Linked DNA regions of Homo sapiens: region 2 is linked to region 1. Evidence: promoter capture Hi-C in 16 types of primary human blood cells and fetal thymus (Javierre and others, 2016). All regions are on one chromosome and are shown on one strand. The core of a region is centred on a gene start or on the middle of the fragment in contact, and the rest is flanking DNA. Distances in the headings are between cores, read along the strand shown. Region 1 holds the start of RASSF1-AS1 (RASSF1 antisense RNA 1). Region 2 holds the start of GLYCTK (glycerate kinase).

Region 1 (7,117 bases), core at 2,486-4,985:
CGGGTCAAGTCGCGGCAGAGGGGGTCGGCGGGGACAGCTCCCGAGGACTAGGTCCGTTACTTTCGCCCCATCGCTGAAGAGTGCGCGAAAATGGTTTATCCCTTGTCGCACTCCACTCGTATCTGGGCCACAGATGAGCAGAGGTGGCTGCTTATATGTAAAAATACGCTGATTTTAAGTTTCTTATCTTTAAAATGCCTTGGCCCTTCTTGAGAAAGGGTTTGTGCCTACTGTCCTCGGAGTCCATCTTCCCAGGCTTGCCTCTTCTCAAACACTCATGACCCCCTCCAGAACCTTTAGGGTGAAGGGAAATTACCACCTATGGGAGGGAGCCTGGAAAAATTTAGAACCTTTGGTGGGCCCCCTGCAAGCAGGAGTTTTGTTGAGTCTTTATTTAGCAAACACCCTTTTCTGACCCAGTGAATCAGATGCTAAAATATGCACGCAGCCACACACCCAGCAGTCCTTCTGCACCCCTGGGAATCGCCAGCAAGCAAAGGTTGCTCTCCCCTGGGTAGACACCAGCTGGAATCACCAGGGGTGCTTTTACAGTCCTCCCCGCTAGCCTGGATCCCACCGCAGACCTGTTGAATCAACTGCTGGGAGTGGACCCTAGGCATCAGTAAATTTTAAAAACTCCCCAAATTATTGTAACATGGAGTCTGGGTTGAGCATCACTGCTCTGGCCTATTTAGGAACTTGTGGATGGATAGTGTCCCAGGTCTGTGTGTGCATGGAGACCCTCTCATCCGGTACAAGAGGACATCACAAATTCAGCTGGGGGGAGCACAAAGTTGTGACAGAATGCAAAGAATGAACAAGGGGCCGAGCGCGGTGGCTCATGCCTGTAATCCCAGCACTTCGGAAGGCGGAGGCGGGTGGATCACCTGAGGTCAGGAGTTCAAGACCAGCCTGGCCAACATGGTGAAACCTCATGTCTACTAAAAAATAAAAAAAAATGAGCCAGGCGTAGTGGCGGGTGCCTGTAATCCCAGCTACTCGGGAGGCTGAGGTGGGAGAATTGCTTGAACACAGGAGGCGGAGGTTGCAGTGAGCCGAGATCGTGCCACTGCCCTCCAGCCTTGGCGACAGAGTGAGACTCTGTCTCAAAAAAAAAAAAAAAAAAAAAAAGAACAAGGCTGGGACATTGCAGCGTTCTCAAAGAGAAATAAAGTAGCCATGGAGATAAGAAGCAGGATGATTTGGGCATGTTTATCAGAGGTAGAGACAAGGGAGAAATCAAAGATAAGTTTGGGCTTTTGTCTCCAGTAACTGGGAGCCTAGTGGCCATTTTTGCTGCAAAGAGGAAGCTGGGCAAGTGTAGCAGTGAGGCTGAAGAAAAGGGAATTAAATTTTGGCCATGTTCACTTGAAACGTCTTTTAGACATCCTAGTGAAGGTACTGGCACGGAGGATCTAGTCTGAGGGTTTAGGTCAGTGTTTCAGCCGTGGATCTGGGGCAGATGAATGTAGACAGACCAGGCCAGTGATCAGGACTGAGCCCAGACTTCATCGTGAGATATGGAAGTTGAGTCAGAATCTGCAAAGGAGCTGAGCAGGAGCTGCAGGGGGTAGGAGGAAAACTGGGAGAGTGTAGCCCCTGGGAGTCAAAGGGAGCAAGCTTCAAATGATGCTGAGGGGGTGAGAATGGAGAATGGAACACTGGATTCCATTTGGTAGTACACAGATCGCTGAGGACCCTGTCCCGGGCAGTTTCCTGGAGGAAGAGGCAAGCCTGGCTGGAGTGGGTAGAGGGGAGAGTGAAGGCGAAGGATTAGAGTGTATAGAGACCAGTGTCTTGGTCTGAGGGGAGTAGAGACAGGTGACAACCACAGGGCAGACGTAGGTTAAAGGTGTTTAGTTTTTCCTTCAAGTAAATGGGCAGATGTATTCCATATACGTTCCCAGTGAAGGGCCGGGTGCGGTGGCTCAAGCCTGTAGTCCCAGCACTTTGGAAGGCCGAGGCGGGTGGATCACCTGAGATCAGGAGTTTGAGACCAGCCTGGCTAACATGGTGAAACCCCGTCTCTACTAAAAATACAAAAATTAGCTGGGCATGGTGGCGGGCGCCTGTAATCCTAGGTACTCAGGAGGCTGAGGCAGAAGAATCGCTTGAACCCAGGAGGCGGAGGTTGCGGTGAGCCGAAATCGCGCCATTGCACTCCAGCCTGGGTGACAAAAGCAAGACGCAGTTTTTTGTTGTTGTTTTTTTAATTGCCAATGAGGAAAGGGGAAGTTCTGTGCTAGGCGATAGAGATCCAACTGTTGAGCAGGCCTCTCTGCCTGTGGCCTTCCGGCCGGTTTCCAGACGCCCAGGTGGCCAACATTAGAGTCCGCGTAGCAGTGTGAGGTAACCCACTGAGATAGGTCGGGCCTGCGGAGCCTGGCGAGCAGCGGCCCTCTCCCTGGGGCTTCCCTTCAATCTCCGGGACATTTCCCCGACCTGGAGCTCCTCCGCCTCACCGCCAGGCCTCTCTGCAGATTGCAAGTTCACCTGCCACTACCGCTGCCGCGCGCTCGTCTGCCTGGACTGTTGCGGGCCCCGGGACCTGGGCTGGGAACCCGCGGTGGAGCGGGACACGAACGTGGTGAGCGCGGGGCCGAGGGCGTATGGGAAGGGCGAGGATGGGCAGGCCACAGTGCAGGCATTCTCGAGGGCTGCCTGGGTGCCGCGCGCAAGGAGCGTTCTAATTGCCGATTTCCCGGCGGCACAGAGAGGCTAATTCTGCGCGGGGGCTGGGAGGGGAGCCTGGATTGCCGGCTCCGCAAGTACTCCACCCGCTGCAAGCGGACCCGGGCCCAGGCTGACCCAGGCTCCGCGCACGCGCACTTCCCGCACCTTCCCGCCCTCGCCTCCGGCCAGAGGCCACTCTTGTGCGCTTGCCCGGACGCTGGCACCCGCCCCCGTTCCCTGTGGTAGGTGGGGTCTGTGAGTGGAGCTCCGGAGCGATGAGGTCATTCCTGGGGGCGAAGCGTGCGTGTCCCCGCCCCGGCGTTCCTGCCCCAATGAGACAAGAGCTAGATCCCGGCGATCTACGTTTCAGTCTTAACGGTTGCGGCGCGGCTCTGGCCCGGGCGCACGCGCACACTGACACGCGTACACGCACGCACGCGACCGGGGCGGTGGTTGGCGGCTACGGACGCGCAGGACTGGGGGACGGGCGGGTACGGCTATGGGCGAGGCGGAGGCGCCTTCTTTCGAAATGACCTGGAGCAGCACGACGAGCAGTGGCTACTGCAGCCAAGAGGACTCGGACTCGGAGCTCGAGCAGTACTTCACCGCGCGAACCTCGCTAGCTCGCAGGCCGCGCCGGGACCAGGTGGGAGCCAGGGGGTGCCGGCGGGCGGGAGGGGAAGCGGTCGCTGGAGCTCCGCCCTCCCCGGTCCGTTGCCGCGTCCTGGGTCGGTGGGCAGCCCCACCCTCCTGGCTACGTGGCTCCCCGCGGGTCCTGGCCGGGGACCTGCCCGCGGAACCGTGCGTAAGACCCCGATTCCACCGCCTAGATGCTGGGTGCCGGGGCCCCCTTGGTTTCTGTCACAGACAGGTTGAACACGGAAAAAGCAGCTGTATGGCTTGTGGTAGACCTGAGCCGGGCATTATCCAGCTATGACTAAAGCCGACCGAGCAGTTTGGACTAGCACCTCGATTTCCGCGTTCGAATGCTCCTGCTCCCTCCTTGGGGAGACTAGGGGAGGATGTGGAGAGGGAAGAGTCCTCGCCAGGAATTGAGAAGTATGTTTAGGAAAACTTGAGAGGCAGAGAGAGATCCTGCTCCTCCATCTGCACTCCTGTATGGAGCCAGCTGAGCCCTCACCTCTTCCCTGTTCTGGCCTGTCACCAGCTGCTGGAATGTGGAAGATTCTGTTCCCTTCCTCTAGGGTGGATCTGGAGAAAGATTTGGGAATAGATAGGAAAGAAGTCTTGTTTTGGACCATAAGCATTCAGGAGCACTTTACCCACAGGAAGGGGGAAAGCTAGATTATAAAATGCCTAAAGAGGTGGAAAAAGAGATCCAGGTTACTAACCCAGGACTGTAAGGTGTCTCGGAACCTCCTAGGTATCCCCATTATCGGAGAACTGTGTGCCAGATGCCATTGGTGTGACCACCAGGCTCAGAGAACCAGGCCTAGGCACCAGGAAAAAGAAACAGGGACTGTGAAGCTCAGTATGCCTGGCAGAAATGGGGCGGAAATCCTTATTTAAGTAAAGAAAGTGGAGTTGTGAGTGATGCTTCAGATAAAATTTTACAAAATTCCTTACAAAATGGGTGGTGCTCAGCACGCCAAAATCTTAGCCCAGAGCTTGGGTGCAAGGGTTGAGTTGAGTGTAGACCCCTGGGCTTGTCTTCATGTCAGTCAGTCCTGAGCCATTTTCCACTGTGGAAAGGTGGGAAAACCACAAGACACTAACCAATTGAAAAGGAGGGCTAGCCACGGAGGTGCACACCTGTAATCCCAGCTACTTGGGAGGGTGAGGCAGAAGGATCACTTGAACCTGGGAGGCAGAGGTTGCAGTGAGCCAAGATCGTGCCACTGCACTCCAGCCTGAGTGACAGAGTGAGACTCTGTCTCAAAAATAGAAAAGGAAGCCAAGTACGGTGGCTCACACCTCTAATGCCAATGCTTTGGGAGGCCAAGGCAGGTGGATCATTTGCAATCAGGAATTCGAGGTCAGCCTGGCCAACATGGTGAAACCCTATCTCTACTAAACATACAAAAATTAGCCGGGCATGGTGGTGTGTGACTGTAGTCCCAGCTACTTGGGAGACTGAATCACTTCAACCGGGAGGCAAAGGTTGCAGTGAGCCAAGATCGTGCCACTGCACTCCAACCTGGGTGACAGGGTGAGGCTCTGTCTCAAAAAAAAGAAAGAAGGCTGGGCTTGGTGACTCATGCCTGTAATCTCAGCATTTTGGGAGGCCAAGGCAGGCAGATCACTTGAGGCCAAGAGTTCGAGACCTGCCAGGCCAACATAGCAAAACCCCGTCTGTACTGAAAATACAAAAAAATTATCTGGCCATGGTGGTGTGTGCCTGTAATCCCAGCTACTGGGGAGGCTGAGGCAGGAGTATCACTTGAACCCAGAAGACAGAGGTTGCAGTGAGTCGAGACTGGGCCACTGCATTCCAGCCTGGATGAGAGAGCAAGACTCTGTCTCAAAAAAAAAAAAAAAAAAAAAGAAAGAATAGGAGGCTGAGAAGTCCCAAGTTATATGTTAAAAAAAAAGAAAAAAACATCAGTTTTAGGCCAGGTGCAGTGGCTCACACCTTTAATCCCAGCACTTTGGAAAGCCGAGGTGGGTGGATCATGAGGTCAGGAGTTCAAGACCAGCCTGGCCAAAATGGTGAAACCCCGTCTCGACTAAAAATACAAAAAATTAGCCAGTTGTGGTGGCAGGCACCTGTAATCCCAGCTACTTGGGAGGCTGAAGCAGAGAATTGCTTGAACCCAGGAGGCAGAGATTGCAATGAGCCAAGATCGCACCACTGCACTCCAGCCTGGAAAACAGAGCGAGACTCTGTCTCAAAAAAAAAACCATCAGTTTTTATGGACAGTGGTAGAGTGGAGGGTGGGTCCCTATGGTGCAGAAGGGAAATTCCATGGTCCTGCTGTGCATCCGACTGGGATGGCTGTTGAAATCCTCTTCCAGCAGGCAGCTTTGGAAACAGAAAAAGAAACTCTTCCTCCTTTAGAATCCTGGAAGGGCTGTGCAGTGCCTCTAATCCAAGTCTGTTTTCTGAGTGAAGATAGGGAGGTTCATCACCAGAAGGGAAGGGGCTGGAAATGAGGTCACTGCATCCCAGCCCAGGGCTCCTGGGTCATCCAGGAAGGGAAGAAGGAGCAAGCTTTCTCATTGTTAGGTAGGAGCTCAGAGCCATCACAAGAACAAGTTAGCACCATCCCTGTGCCCTCCCTGTTCTGCAAACAAAATGATCTTCCTTCTTGCCCTGGCACTAGAGTCTGTCTGGCATTTCTCCTGCCCCTAGTACTCCTCCCATCTGGGTACTTCTTCCCGTTGGTGTACTGAACAAACACATCCACTGCTTTATTCACAGCCTCCAGCCCTCATTTTCCAGGGCCCACACCATTTGTTTTTACTAACCCGACAAGGTTGCCCACTGTCCCCAGTAAGGTTTGTACTGGGGTTTTTACTCCAGTGCTCTTCTCCATCCAGGAGACCTTTGGATACTTGGGGAAGAAAATGAGCTTAAATTCCCACCCCTCCCCCTTTACCTTTTTCCTGTAAGGCCCTGGCCTTAGTTCTTAGCCCCACATCCTTGCTGGCTGCAGAATAGCAGCGGGTTCTGGGTAAGGAGCATTCTGCTAAAACGCTCCACCCTGCTCCCTCATCTGTCCTCTCCATTTGTCCCCATCAGATGGTTTAAGTGCTTAAGGGGACTCCAGGGCGGAGTCAGGGAGAACCCTGGCTCTCCTGGGCTAGGCACAAGATCATTCTACAGGAAACCTTGTGGGAATTCTTCTGGGACAAAGTATTGGTCAGCGCTGAGCTTAGCTGTGTCTGTGACACTCGCATTCTAACTAGGGCCTATCTGACGTCAACAGGAAGTAAGGCTGATGCAGTGGGGCCAAGGGAGTCTGGGAGAAGAAAGTCGGTTCAGAGCCCTGGCTGCCCTGTCCCACACTCCACCCTTCCGGCAAGAATCCAGTCCCTAGATGAGGTGGGGAGTGAGTGGTCGAGTTAAAAATCTCTGGGTCGGGTACGATGGTTCACGCCTGTAATCCCAGCACTTTGGGAGGTGAAGGCAGGCGGATCACTTGAGGTCAGGAGTTCAAGACCAACCTGGCCAATGTGGTGAAATCCCATCTCTACTAAAAATACAAAAATTAGCCGGGTGTTGTTGTGGCACGCGCCTGTAGTCCCAGCTACTCGGGAGTCTGAGGCAGGAGAATCGCTTGAACCCAGGAGGCAGAACTTGCAGTGAGCCAAGATCCAGCCACTGCACTACAGCCTGGGCGACAGAGTGAGGCTTCGTCTCAAAAAAAAAAAAAATCTTTGGGCCAAATCTCCAGACAGCACAGGCAGGTGCAGAAACCCACCAGGAAGCTGCCTGTGTACCTCTGGCAGATTGGAGCCTGGCCTAAAGCTGCCTTTTATG
Region 2 (7,117 bases), core at 2,202-4,701, 2.0 Mb before region 1:
ACGACTAGCCCAAGGCAACCCAGGAGTCACCATCCAGGCTCCTCACCACCTCCCTTGCTCCTAACTTTACCCTGTGACCCCGGGGGCTCAGACCTGATCTCTCGAAGACCTGAGAGATCAGGTGGTGCACCCCCCACCAACAGTCTTGGGCCAATGTGGTACCACACCTGAGATCAGCACGAGCAGCAGGTCATCAGCTGTGAGTCCCTCAGCCAGTTGCTGGATGGCCAGTGCAGCCCGCAGCGCATCGCGGTCCGGGAGGTTGTCCTCCGCACCCTCGAATACCTGGACACGGCTATGTGGCTTCAGCAGCATCTCCCTGGGGAGGGAAAGGTCAGCACGCAAGAGATGGGGTGGACTCCTCTCCTCCCACCTGATCTCTCAACTTTACAGGTGATGGGGGCATGAACGAAGATGCCCACTGACATGCATCCTGGGGCCAGGCCAGATCCAGGAGAAATGGGAAGCGGGTGGGGAGGGGAGGCCCGATTCAGCCTGTGTCTGGGCCCAGGTTTCCCTCCAGATAGATAGAGGGAGGCAGGCCCCCATGGCTCCTTACTGCTTGCCGGCACGCTCCATGGCAGCACGGATCCCCTTGGGAACGCTGATCACGCCCTGCACAAGATGCTGGCCCAGTAGTTCCTCAGCTGCAGCTGCCATACCCAGCACAGCCTTGCCAAAGCCCACCAGGTAGAGGTTTTGCCTCAGCTGAAAGTTCCGGTCCCGCACCTTCAGCTGTCTGCCACCAGGGTCCAAGGATAGTGCCCGGTGCAGCATGGGGCCCGGCAGCACTGCACCTACAGCACTCTCAAACAGCTGCCTGGCCTGCTCTGCCAAGGCCATGCTGCTGGCCAGACGGGCCACTGAGCCCCGCCAGAGGAGTGGATGCAAGGGGGCTCGGGCCAAGCGGGGCAGGACCTGCAGGGCTGCAGCCATGCCCCACTGCTCTCAGCACTGCCTGGCACCCATGGCTGCCTAGAGGGAAAAAGCACAACTGAGGCCCTTGCAAGGCAAAAGACAGGAGGTCCCCCACGGCCGCCCCTCTGAGGGCTCAGGGCCAGTGGACCCCACAGCTGCTGCTACAAGAAGGAGCCATCTGATAGCCCCAGGAGACTTCCTGAAGCCTGCAGCTGCAGGATCTTACTCGTCCTTGGAGACCAGCCCTGCCACCCAGCCACGTCCTCCTCTTCTGCAGACCACATGCCGGCCCTCTGGATACTCTGCCTCAAGTCCAAAGTTCCTATTAGCTGGGCCCTCCTCCCAGGTCACCCCTTTGGCTGGGAGTTAATCATTGACAGAGGGAGTAATTTCTACCAGTGGGCTCCCATCCCACCCCTTTTCCACCCCCTGCACTTCTGCGCTGTTACCCTGGGGCAACGCCCCTTTCTGGCACTCCTTCCTTGCCTCTTTACCACCTCTGCTGCCAGGAAGCTGTTGATTGTCCCACCAACTGACCCTGAGCCCATTGACCTCCAGTCTTCTCTATTTCATTATCTCATGAGACTGGGATTAGGAGCCTGGGAAGTCAGGGTCTATAGGAGGCTGCAGGTTTATCAGGTCAAACCCAGAACACATCCTCAGGGCAAGCAATCTGAGGAATCTCAGTATGCAGGACCAGTTCAGCAAGAGGTTTAGGTTCAAATCAGGAGTGAGGGCAAAGTCTGGCTCATGGTGGAACCTTAGAAAAGTCCCCAGGCACCATGTGAGGCCATGTGCCATGAAGCCCAATTGCAGGACAGAAAAGGATGCCCTTCTACCCACACAGTTGGCCAGACCCAACCCTGCCAAGAACACGCCTTCTGGTTCCAAGATAACAAAAACAAGTCCTAGGTCACACCACCCACAGTGGTGAGAGCCCAAGGGCTGAAGTAGGCAAAGGCCAGGCTCCCATAACTGAGCCCATAGCCATTTTCCCCACTGGGCAGAGTAAAAGCTAAAGAAGCCTTGGGGCGAAGGTCAGGAAGCTGTAGAGGGGTATAGGAACAACAAAGACCCAAACAGCTCATCTGTACTACATATGTACTATTGCATCTACTTTAATAAATGCCTACCATAAATGTTGCAAGCTGACTTCATCAGCAAGTATGGACTGAGCAGGGTAAGGAGGCTGGGAATTGAGGTTCCAGCTCTACTATAGGCTTTCTGAGTGGCTGGGACACCTCCATTTCTCTCACTGGGCCTCATCCGCAAAATGAGACATGGGGTGAGATTAACACTACGCTCTTCCCTTAACAACCTCAGGCTCTCTGATACTGTCCACTGCAACACAGATCTCAAACACCGGTTTACCCCACACCCAAATATGGTGGTTACTTCTAGACTTTGACCATTTTGCTTGCCTAGTTCTCAGCTCTCCGGTAAGAAAAGACAGCCATGCCTGACTTCTGTTGTGAAAGGGAACACAGAGGGCATCGTCATGGGGATTCCGAAAATGGGTCCAGTTTTGGCCAGGGGGACCCCTGGAGCTTGCCCATTGGACTTGGAGCTAAAAGCATCTTAGCAACTAAGACAGCCGGTCTTTATAGCCTGGATGAAATTTGTATCTATTTCCCAGATGGACAAGAGCCTAGAAGATCCCAGCCTTGCCACTGGGTATGAGCACAGGACAGGGGGACGCTCAATGCTAAGGCTGCCAGAGAAAATACAGGACTTCCGGTTAAATTTGAATTTCAAATAAACAAGTAATTTTTAAAGTATAAGTATGTGCATACAATGTTTAGGACTTAACAATTATTCGTCGTTTATCTTAACTCAAATTTAACTGGACGTGGCCCGGCGCAGTGGCTCACGCCTGTAATCCCAGCACTTTGGAAGGCTGAGGCGGGCGCATCACCTGAGGTCAGGAGTTCGAGACCAGCCTGACCAACGTGGTGAAACCCCGTCTCTTCTAAAAATACAAAAATTAGCCGGGTGTGGTGGGCGCCCGTAATCCCAGCTACTCGGGAGACTGAGGCATGAGAATCATTTGAACAGGGGAGGCGGAGGTTGCAGTGAGCCGAGATCGCGCCACTGCACTCCAGCCTGGGTGACAGAGTGAGATTCTAACTCAAAAAAAATGTAACTGGACGCTTTGCATTTTTATTTGCTAAGTCCTCCAATTCTATCCAAGACACGGTCTCTCCGAAACTCCGGGAGGCTCCAGAGCAAAACAACGGAAATAGGAAGACTACCGGTCTTGACTCCTCCCCGCCATCAAAGAAGGCTGGTACCATTTCCGGCTTTCCCTAGACAGTAGGGGGCCGGAAGTGACGTCATCCTAAGGTAGGGCCTTAGCGAGGGAAATGGCTGCCGCGTAATGCCCGGTGATGCGAGAAAGAAGGGCCTGCTGCCACCAGGACCCGTCATCGCCCAGCCCAGGGACCGCTTCTGAAGGCCATGCGAGCCCTGGCGGCGCAGACTTACCAGCCCACAGCTCCGGCCGCGGTGCCCAGCGCTGGAGAACGGAAGTACTAGGGGGTGGGCGGAGCGGAAGCCGGAAGTGTGGGTGGGTGGAGCGGCGCAGGCGGGTGCGAGCTCTGGCTGAAGCCGGTGTCCGGGAGGGGAGAGTTTAGCATATTGGCTCTTTGCTGGCCACTGACAGACCTGGAAGGAGTCACCTTCAGTCCTCATTTTTTAAATCTCTACATTGAGGGTAATAATCCCCGCCTCACCGATTGCCGATTTTTTTTTTGAGACGGGGTCTCATTCTGTCGCCCAGACTGGAGTGCAGAGTCGCGGTTTCGGCCCAATGCAACCTCCGCCTCCCGGATTCAAGCGATTCTCATGCCTCAGCCTCCCGAGTAGCTGGGATTACAGGCATGTGCCACCACTCCGGGCTAATTTTTGTATTTTTTAGTAGAGACGGGCTTTCGCCATGTTGCCCAGGCTGGTCTCGAACGCCTAACCTCAAGCGATCCACCCACCTCAGCCTCCGAAAGTGATGGGATTACAGACTTCAGCCGCCGCACCCGGCCTCTCCCTTCCTTTATCCTGTACGGTCAGTCAGCAGATGCACCCTGAGTGTCAGGCACTGACTGGGCTGAGCAAACGAACTGAGAATCACTACTTCCCCACAACTCACCCCTTCTGGAGCCAGATTAAGTAATTCCCGCTCCTCTCCATGGCTTTTATTCCACAACTTATTATTGTTCTTCCCTCTCCCACCATGGGCCACCAAATACAGCTCTGGCTTAGCAAGAGTTCCATTCTGCGATCCTCAAGCACATAAGCGGCATGTAAACGCTAATGACTCTGGGCCTACCTCGCTGTCCCTACTCTCATCCGGGGCCTACCCTGTGTTGGCTGGATGCCTTCCCACATTCATAAGATGAGTCCTGATCAGACTCCAAAAATACAAAACAGTTCACTGTTTTTACTGATGTTTTCTTAGGGAGATAGAGGAGAGAGTTGCATCACAAATCACACACTTGATTTCCTAACAATTTTATTGAAACATGTTTCTTGGCAGGGCGCAGTGTTTCACGCCTGTAATCCCAACATTGGGGAGGCCAAGGTGGGCGGATCGCTTGAGCCTAGGAATGCGAGACCAGCCTGGGAACATGGCGAAACTTATCTCTACCAAAAAAAAAAGAGCCAGGTGTGGTGGCATGCTCCTGTAGTCCCAGCTACTCAGGAGGCTGAGATGGGAGGATCACCTGAGCCTGGGAGGTAGAGGCTGCAGTGAACCTTGATCACGCCACTGCACTCCAACCTGGGCCCCTGTCTCAAAAAAAAACCAACAAACAAAAACACATTTCTTTCTCTTGGTTTTGAGGTGGAGTCTTGCTCTGTCACCCAGGCTGGACTGCAATGGCACAGTCTCAGCTCACGGCCACTGCACTGCAGCCTGGGCACGATGTCGGCTCACTGCAACCTCCGCCTCCCAGGTTCAAGCAATTCTCCTGCCTCAGCCTCCCGAATAGCTGGGACTACAGGCGCCCGCCACCACGTCCAGCTAATTTTTGTATTTTTAGTAGAGACAGAGTTTCACCATGTTGGCCAGGCTGGTCTCGAACTCCTGACCTTGTGATCCACCGCCCTTGGCCTCCCAAAGTGCAGGGATTACAGGCGTATAAACAATTACAGGCGCCCGGCCTATATAAACAACCTTCATCTTTCCCCATGCTGGAGAACACTAATTGCCACTGCTTGGTGTCTGTGTTTCCCTGGATGGCTGCCCTCACACTTTATGCTTGAATAAATTCTTTTAACTGGATATCGAACCTTTTGATGATTTTTAGGTTGACATTAGAAATGTGTTTTTGGGACAGGTGCAGTGGCTCATGCCTGCAATCCCAGTACTTTGGGAGGCTGAGGCAGGTGGGATCATTTGAGGTCAGGAGTTCGAGACTGGCCTAACCAATATGGTGAAACCCCATCTCTACTAAAAAATACAAAAATTAGCTGGGCATGGGCCGGGCACAGTGGCTCACACCTGTAATCCTAGCACTTTGGGAGGCTGAGGCAGGTGGATCACCTGAGGTCAGGAGTTCAAGACCAGCCTGGCCAACATGGCGAAACCCCGTCTCTACTAAAAATACAAAAATTAGCTAGGCATGGTGGTGTGTGCCTGTAATCCCAGCTACTGGTGGGGCTGAGGCAGGAGGATTGCTTGAACCTGGGAGGTTGCAGTGAACCGAGATTGCGTGACTGCCCTCCAGCCTGGGTGACAAAGCGAGACTCCGTCTCAAAAAAAAAAAAAAAAAAGATTGTTTATATAGGCAAAAACAGGAGTGCTGACCAGAATTACAACATTTTCCAAAAAAAGGCTAACATAAATACAAGATTTGGTTGGCTACTATTGATTATACTGGAAGGAGTTTGCTTAACATTCTATTGTAAAGAGACAACAATCACAAGGGTCTCTATCTCCCACATCATCTAGTCTAAGTCTGAATGAAGAATAGGGAGCCTGGTTAATGTATAACATTTCAATACAAAGATCAGGAAGCAGCAGTCATGCATCAGAGAAGAAAAAAAAAAAGCAATGCCTGCTCAGTTTCCAGGGCTTCACTTTTCTCCTTCACATTATAAATTGGGAATGTCCTAAAATTTTATTTTCTTTTCACACCCCCTACCTGCTCCCTTTGGCAGTTGCTACATCTCTCCTTAGGTCTCCAAACCATGCTGTGCTCTTGTCATGAACCTTTCCCTTCCTCTGGCCCCCACTTCCAGCTCTCTCCCTGGATTTTTCTTTTTCTTATATATACATATATTTTTATTTGAGACAGGATCTCACTCTGTCACCCAGGTTGGAGTTCAGTGCCATCATCTTGGATTATTGCAACCTCCACCTCCGAGGCTCAAGTGATCCTCCCACTTCAGTCTCCCAAGTAGCTGGGACCACAGACGTGCACCACCACACCCAGCTAATTTTTTGTATTTTTTGTAGAGAAGTGGTTTTGCCATGTTGGCCAGGCTGGTCTCAAACTTCTGCGCTCAAACCATCTTCCTGCCTCTGTCTCCCAAAGTGCTGGGATTACAGGTGTGAGCCACCACACCCGTCCTTCTCCCTGGATTTTTCCTTTTAAAATATGAGACTTTGTATTCCTTCTCCTAAATGATTTCCCACCACATCATCAAAACAAAGGCATCCGTAGGTGGAATTGCCCTCTTTAATGTGGGAGAGGTTGTAAATACTGAAAATTTTATTGTTTTTTCTTGGTTATAGTCAGCTATATTCCTTCCATGCATTTATTCCTTCCTCAGACATAATTCAAGACATTTCCTGAGTGCCTTCTGTGTGGGCCGAATGCTGTAGCTGCTGGGATAGGTAAGAAGTGGTACTTTTAATTTTAATTTTTTTTTGTTTTTAGGAGACAAAGTCTCACACTGTCGCCCAGGCTGGAGGACAGTGGTGATTACAGCTCACTATAGCCTCAACCTCCTGGGTTGTAGCGATCCTCCTGCCTCAGCCTCTCAAGTAGCTGGGACTACAGGTGCACACCACCATGCCTGGCTAATTTTTTGTGGAGACAGGGTCTTGCTTTGTTGCCCAAGCTGGTCTCAAACTCCTGGGCTCAAGCAGTTCTCCTGCCCCAGCCTCTGAAAGTGCTGGGACTATAGGTGTAAGCCACTGTGCCCAGCCTGGGCTTGCAGGGTTACTCCGTGGGAGGGAAGGTCAGCTGTGTTGGAGGCA

What was found. The method cuts DNA at HindIII sites, captures the fragments that hold promoters and counts their contacts. A CHiCAGO score of 5 or more calls a contact.
Region 2: a contact is called between the fragment with the promoter of GLYCTK here and a fragment that was not itself captured in region 1, in 1 of 17 cell types (non-activated CD4 T cells). The highest score is 5.8, in non-activated CD4 T cells.

The regions. Positions count from the first base shown.
Region 1 is chr3:50,333,375-50,340,491 of GRCh38, reverse strand. It overlaps RASSF1 (Ras association domain family member 1), which reads left to right. Exons shown (of 6, transcript NM_007182.5): 2 at 2,481-2,587. RASSF1-AS1 (RASSF1 antisense RNA 1) reads right to left here and starts at 2,981. Exons shown (of 1, transcript NR_109831.1): 1 at 2,192-2,981. RefSeq lists enhancers at 1-551, 2,118-2,207, 2,288-2,547, 2,375-2,946 and silencers at 3,018-3,197, 3,268-3,577. The HindIII fragment of the contact is 4,225 bases long and covers 1,623-5,847 here.
Region 2 is chr3:52,284,162-52,291,278 of GRCh38, reverse strand. It overlaps GLYCTK (glycerate kinase), which reads right to left and starts at 3,451. Exons shown (of 5, transcript NM_145262.4): 1 at 3,403-3,451; 2 at 560-975; 3 at 168-319. The coding sequence starts at 936. GLYCTK-AS1 (GLYCTK antisense RNA 1) reads left to right here and starts at 1,546. Exons shown (of 1, transcript NR_046719.1): 1 at 1,546-2,699. LOC107986086 (a long non-coding RNA gene) reads left to right here and starts at 3,259. Exons shown (of 3, transcript XR_001740699.2): 1 at 3,259-3,446; 2 at 6,688-6,751. RefSeq lists enhancers at 380-880, 3,684-3,793, 2,620-3,819, 3,125-3,866. The HindIII fragment of the contact is 11,873 bases long and covers 1-7,117 here.